Linked DNA regions of Homo sapiens: region 1 is linked to region 2. The links are contacts of gene promoters, found by promoter capture Hi-C in blood cells and fetal thymus (Javierre and others, 2016). All regions are on one chromosome and are shown on one strand. The core of a region is centred on a gene start or on the middle of the fragment in contact, and the rest is flanking DNA. Distances in the headings are between cores, read along the strand shown. Region 1 has its middle 13 kb from the start of THEMIS. Region 2 holds the start of PTPRK-AS1 (PTPRK antisense RNA 1).

Region 1 (2,700 bases), core at 109-2,608, 110 kb after region 2:
TATGTCTGTTTTCAATTTTGTTTTTTTTCCAAAGGGGAAGTATGATAAACCTCCTTCCACACCCCAGTAAAAGCTTCAAAAGTGTTTTCTGTGGTTCTTCTAAAAGTAAATTTCCTAAAAATAGGACAAAAATGGATCCATCAATGACGAACTGTTACAATGGGACCTCAATCTGTGTAAGATTAAAATTATATAAACTTGATTCTAAAAATGGTTCAATATCAATAAGTAGCAGCTTTTCAGATTCACTAGTAATGTGTAAAATCAGGTCAAAGTGTGTTTCTGGTCAATTACTGTTGTGATAACCATAGCAGGCACACATAAAATATTTTACTTGGCACTTTATCTGTAATATTACTTTGTTTCAAACAAAATAGAACTTTATGAAGATTATATAGTTACCTCCTGGCTCTACTGTAGAAAAGCATGTAACTTTACTGTAAAGTGGGAACAAAGGCGGCAAATGTCATTTACATACATTTGAAAGTTCCTTTCATTCCTTATATTAATGTTTGGTCAACGATGGACTACATATGTGATGGTAGTCCCTTAAGATTATAATACCATGTTTACACTGTGCCTTTTTCTATGTTTAGATATGTCTAGACACAAAAACACCACTGTGTTACAGTTGCCTACATCATTCAGACAGTAACATGCTATACAGGCTTGTAGCCTAGGAGCAATAGGCTATACCTGATGGCCTAGGTGTGCAGTAAAAGTACACACCTAGGTTTGTGTAAGCACACTCTATGATTAACGCAACAATGAAATTGCCTGAGGATGCATTTCTCAGAACATATCTCATTGTTAAGTGACACATGACTATGTTTCATAATGAAATCGTCCCTTAGGAATTTACAAAGTGGCAAGAAAAAGAAAAACTATGTTTTTCTTAGTATCTTCACAGACATGCGTTTCCAGGAGAGCAATACAGGTTGAGCATTTCTGATCTGCAAATCCAAAAATCCAAAATGCTCCAAAATCTGAAACTTTTTGAGCACCAACATGACAACACAGTGGAAAATTACAAGTCTAGCCTCATGTTGAAGTCAAAACTCATTCAAAACTTTGTTTCATGCACAAAATTATTAAAAATATTGTATAAAATTACATTCAGGTTATGTGTATAAGGTGTCTACAAAACATAAATAAACTTTGTATTTAAACTTGGGCCCCATCCCCAAGATATTTCATTATGTATATGGAAATATTCCAAAATCTTAAAAGAATCTGAATCATTTTTTGTCCCAAGCATATCAGATAAATTCTCAACCTGTATAAGACTTGGCCTCCACCATTTTATGTGCTGTTTGCTAAGGAGTTTAGGAGCAATATTTTCTCCCAATTAAGTTCTAGCAAGCACACAGTCCTTGATCATCATTTCCAATCAATACTGGTATTCTAAAATAGAGTACTTGTGATTGAATTCTAATGCATGAGCTGTAAAATGTTATACAAGAGAAAAATATTCAGCTTATTTATGAAGTTCATATTTACTTCAAATACAGATTAAATAATGCTTTGGTGATTAAAAGCCTGAATTTACAGTTTACTTCAACGGAGAAATCTCTCAGTGAGACAAACACTCTAACATTGGCCTGTGTCCAGGTCTGGTCATGATTCTATTCTGTCATCTTGGGGAGGAGAAGGTAAGAATGTAGGTAGAATTTAACCTGGTTCAGGTTCAGATTATTCAATTAAATACAACAAATATGTCAAGTCCATTCATTTGTTTTTTTTGAAAACATTTCTTAGCATAGTGCTGGTGAAGGTATTTGGAGCTATTGAGTGCATCCAATCAAAGTAGACCCAAATCTCCTTTCCCTAAATGTAGAATTCAGGAACAAAGGAAAAAGCATGCAAATGGACACATAAAAAATATTCAGCGAATGGAAACTGAAAAGGAAGAGAGAATTGTGAAAATAATATAAAGATTAGAAAAGGCTTCATAGAGGTAAAGGAACTAGAACTTAAGTGATGAGTATAAGAGACTTTTTTTTTCCATCCAGTATCTATTTCCTCTTTTATGAGGGATTACTTGATGCTCTGCTCTATGTCCAGGCATTTCATGTCCAATGTCGTAATGGTCCTGTGACCTAATCTGGCCAGCAGAGCATTACGTTCACTTGGCCACTGATGTCATTCAGGCATGGAAAAATATCCTAGTCAGACCCCTGAGAAAAGTAATTCATAACAATCTTTTCTCACTGCATTAGGGATACAGATCTGGAAGAGCAAGTCATCCACTTTGCTTAGACGAGAAGATTCATGGTAGAAGCATTGGAATTCAGGCTAAGATCTGGAGGTTTTAACTTCAACATGAAAGCAGTTGGACTTTGTAAGGCAAAACAAACAACATTTGGCCTACAGGCACTATTATAAAATACAAACAGGTATACAAAATTTGTCATATTTTCAGGAAGATTATAGATTTTCCTCTTACATTTGCTTAACACCTTTAAACTTTTTTCAGTTGTGTATTATGTGTATTAATAATTTAAGTTAGGCCATAGAAGTAGGTCATATTCCAGATTAAGAGGTTTGAGAATTCTCAAAGACAGGTTTGGGTTTCTCATGGCACTTCTCAGACCAATTCTGGTTACAAGTCATCCCTGGGTCTAAAATAATATGGAAGCTTGGAAATAACAAGGTAACTTACACAGATCTTCAATTATCTCAGCCTACATATGTGACTCA
Region 2 (2,700 bases), core at 30-2,529:
GCACCAAGGCATTCGTGAGAGAGCCAACCCCCAAAACCAAAAACCTCCCACCAAGTCCCATCTCCAGCATTGGGGAATACATCTCAGCATGAGATTTGGAGGGCACAAACACCCAAACTGTATCAGTTGATCAAGAACTGACCATGGAAGATGGATAGTTGAAGTCACAAGCAGTCCAGCACAATTCTAACCTTACCATGAATCTGAATTCTTAGCTCACTAAAGATTTAGGAACAGAATTGGGGAGTAGAATTATGGTCATGTAAAAATAGAGTCCGTTTAACATCCTAACCTTAAATCAGAAACCATCAAAGCATCATATCAACAAAAAAATTGTTTTCACTTATGAAAAATATGAATATTAACACAATTTTGTTGCACACTTACTCTCTGCCATATGTCTTACACTAGGCATTGAGAAAATACTAAAAATACATAGGATATGTTCCATGCTCTCAAGAAGTTGTGAATTGTGAAAGAACCTGATAGTTGAAGTAATAATTTCATGCAGTGTGCCTAAACATGAAATAGAATTCCATACAAAGTGACATTTAAATAGGTAGAAAAACCAGAGACCATATCCACACTGGTAACAGCATGGGCAGAGGTTTGCAGTTAGACATGAAAGTTAATGCAGTGTTCAAGAATATACTGAGGAGTTAGTAAGAAATTAGGCTAAAATGTATGTTGATACAGATATGAGAAAGGGCTGTAAGACTCAAGATTCACTTTATCTTGAGGGCAGGGTGGCAGCTATCAACAGTGCTAAAGCACTTTCTCTTCCACTTTAAAAATTAAAACAGTGTGGTAACCTTAAAAGGTGTTCTGAAACAATATTCTAAGCAACTGTTATCACTTTTGCTTTTTCCTTTTTTTTATCAGGTGCTTACTTAAACATTTCTCATAATTGCAAAGATTGTGACTTGTAATTATTTGTAGTTACTATTTTACCATGAGCTTTACCCACATTTTTATGTGTTTTAATTTTAAGTGGCTAAATATTATTATAAATAGTGTGTGCAGTATAATTTATATTCGTCATTTTCATTTTCCCTGAAATCTTTGTAGGCTATTAAGAAGAACAATGATAGGATCATATTTAAGTTTTAGAAAAATGACACCTTAAAAGCTGCAGGTAGATTAGGATGAGTAGGACTTGGAGTCAGAAACTTCAATAAGGGAGTGGCTGCAATATAGACTAGGAAAGAGGTGATACCAACCTGTCAGTGTCCTCATCGGTAAAAGAAGATACAGCTGGGCACAGTGGCTTATGCCTGTAATCCCAGCACTCTGGGAGGCCAAGGTGGGCGGATCACTTGAGGCCAGGAGTACGCACCAACTTGGCCAACAGAGTGAAACCCCGTCTCTACTAAAAACAAAAATTAGTCAGGCACAGTGGCACACGCCTGTAGTCCCAGCTACTCGGGTGGCTGAGGTAGGAGAATTGCTTGAACCCAGGAGAAGGTTGCAGTAACCTGAGATGGCTCCACTGCACTCCAGACTCGGTGACAGAGCAAGACTCTGTCTCAAAGGAAAAAAAAAACATACAACAAGCCTCATAAGTGCTTGTGAAAGCTAATTGAAATAATATATTAAAAGAGTTTGGCATTTAGAAAGCTCTGAAACGATCATTCATTTAACAGAGGAAGCTATGAACATTTTTTTTTTAAAGGTCAGTTTGACTTTTAGGCACCTGATTTCCTGAAGGACTCTTTGAACTCTTTGAATGTGGGTACTGTTTTATGCATTTTCATGTGATAACTAAACAGCCTGATTTACATTCTTGCCCAATATACGTATTTCTTCAAATAATGAACTAATGAATTCCCGGGCAATAAATACCTTTTGGTTAAATGGACAAACAGTTCTGTTCAGTGGGAAACATGCTAGTAGAGTCTGCTTTTAAAGGAATTGCTGTATGCAGTATTCTAAGAAATAATGAGGAAGTATTTTTACTTCAAAATACTTTGATCATAATATGATGATAGGTATTTTCTTCTCTTGCCTGTGAAAGTGTGTGTTAGGTATGTACATTATGGGGCCAAACTAGTGATTGTTGCTAATTAGGATATATGTGGCGCATTCTATCAAGAATCCCAGTTTTCTGGGCACTGTGAGCTGTAAGTCAAGTCATAAAAAGGAGTGAATTGTCTTTTTCATATATAGCACTGAAATTGACTGGAGTTAATTATTTAATGCCTACCTCCCCTACTAGACTACAGGCTGTGTCACACACCTCCCTCAGCATCTAGCACAGCAAATGGATTTAGTAATATTTATTGAATAGATTAAGAAATACAGAGTGAATAAAATAGGACACTGGTTGGAGTGTTGGGTCAACCACAATTTTGGTGTGATATATTCTACATATCACAGTGAGAAGGAAAATGATATAAAATGAATAATATCCTCCTTAAAGTACTATACAAAAAGAATACTTCTTATATTTTTTCAAGATGATGTAATCTTGTCAAATATATAATATGTTGCATGCCAGTGCTTTCTTAATCCTTAATAGTAATACCAGTAATTGTATATTAAGTTCCTGCTATGTGTCAAATACTTCTAGGTACTTTAAATGTATATTCAGTAATCTTCAGAACAAGCCTAGAGAGCAGAATTTAGTTATTTCATTGTAAAGATGAGAAAAGTGGGTCTCAAAAAAAGCAGATAACTTGTCCCAGATCACACAGTAGTTTT

What was found. The method cuts DNA at HindIII sites, captures the fragments that hold promoters and counts their contacts. A CHiCAGO score of 5 or more calls a contact.
Region 1: a fragment that was not itself captured here is called in contact with the fragment with the promoter of PTPRK-AS1 in region 2 in 1 of 17 cell types (total CD8 T cells); the score reaches 5.5 in total CD8 T cells.

What each region holds. Positions count from the first base shown.
Region 1 is chr6:127,912,517-127,915,216 of GRCh38, reverse strand. It overlaps a transcript of THEMIS not described here. Among named protein-coding and RNA genes, the nearest start is that of THEMIS, 13 kb to the right of the region's middle. The HindIII fragment of the contact is 2,565 bases long and covers 76-2,640 here.
Region 2 is chr6:128,026,444-128,029,143 of GRCh38, reverse strand. It overlaps PTPRK-AS1 (PTPRK antisense RNA 1), which reads right to left and starts at 1,279. Exons shown (of 5, transcript NR_125849.1): 1 at 1,221-1,279. The region is part of intron 13 of PTPRK (protein tyrosine phosphatase receptor type K); the gene reads left to right. The HindIII fragment of the contact is 8,791 bases long and covers 1-2,700 here.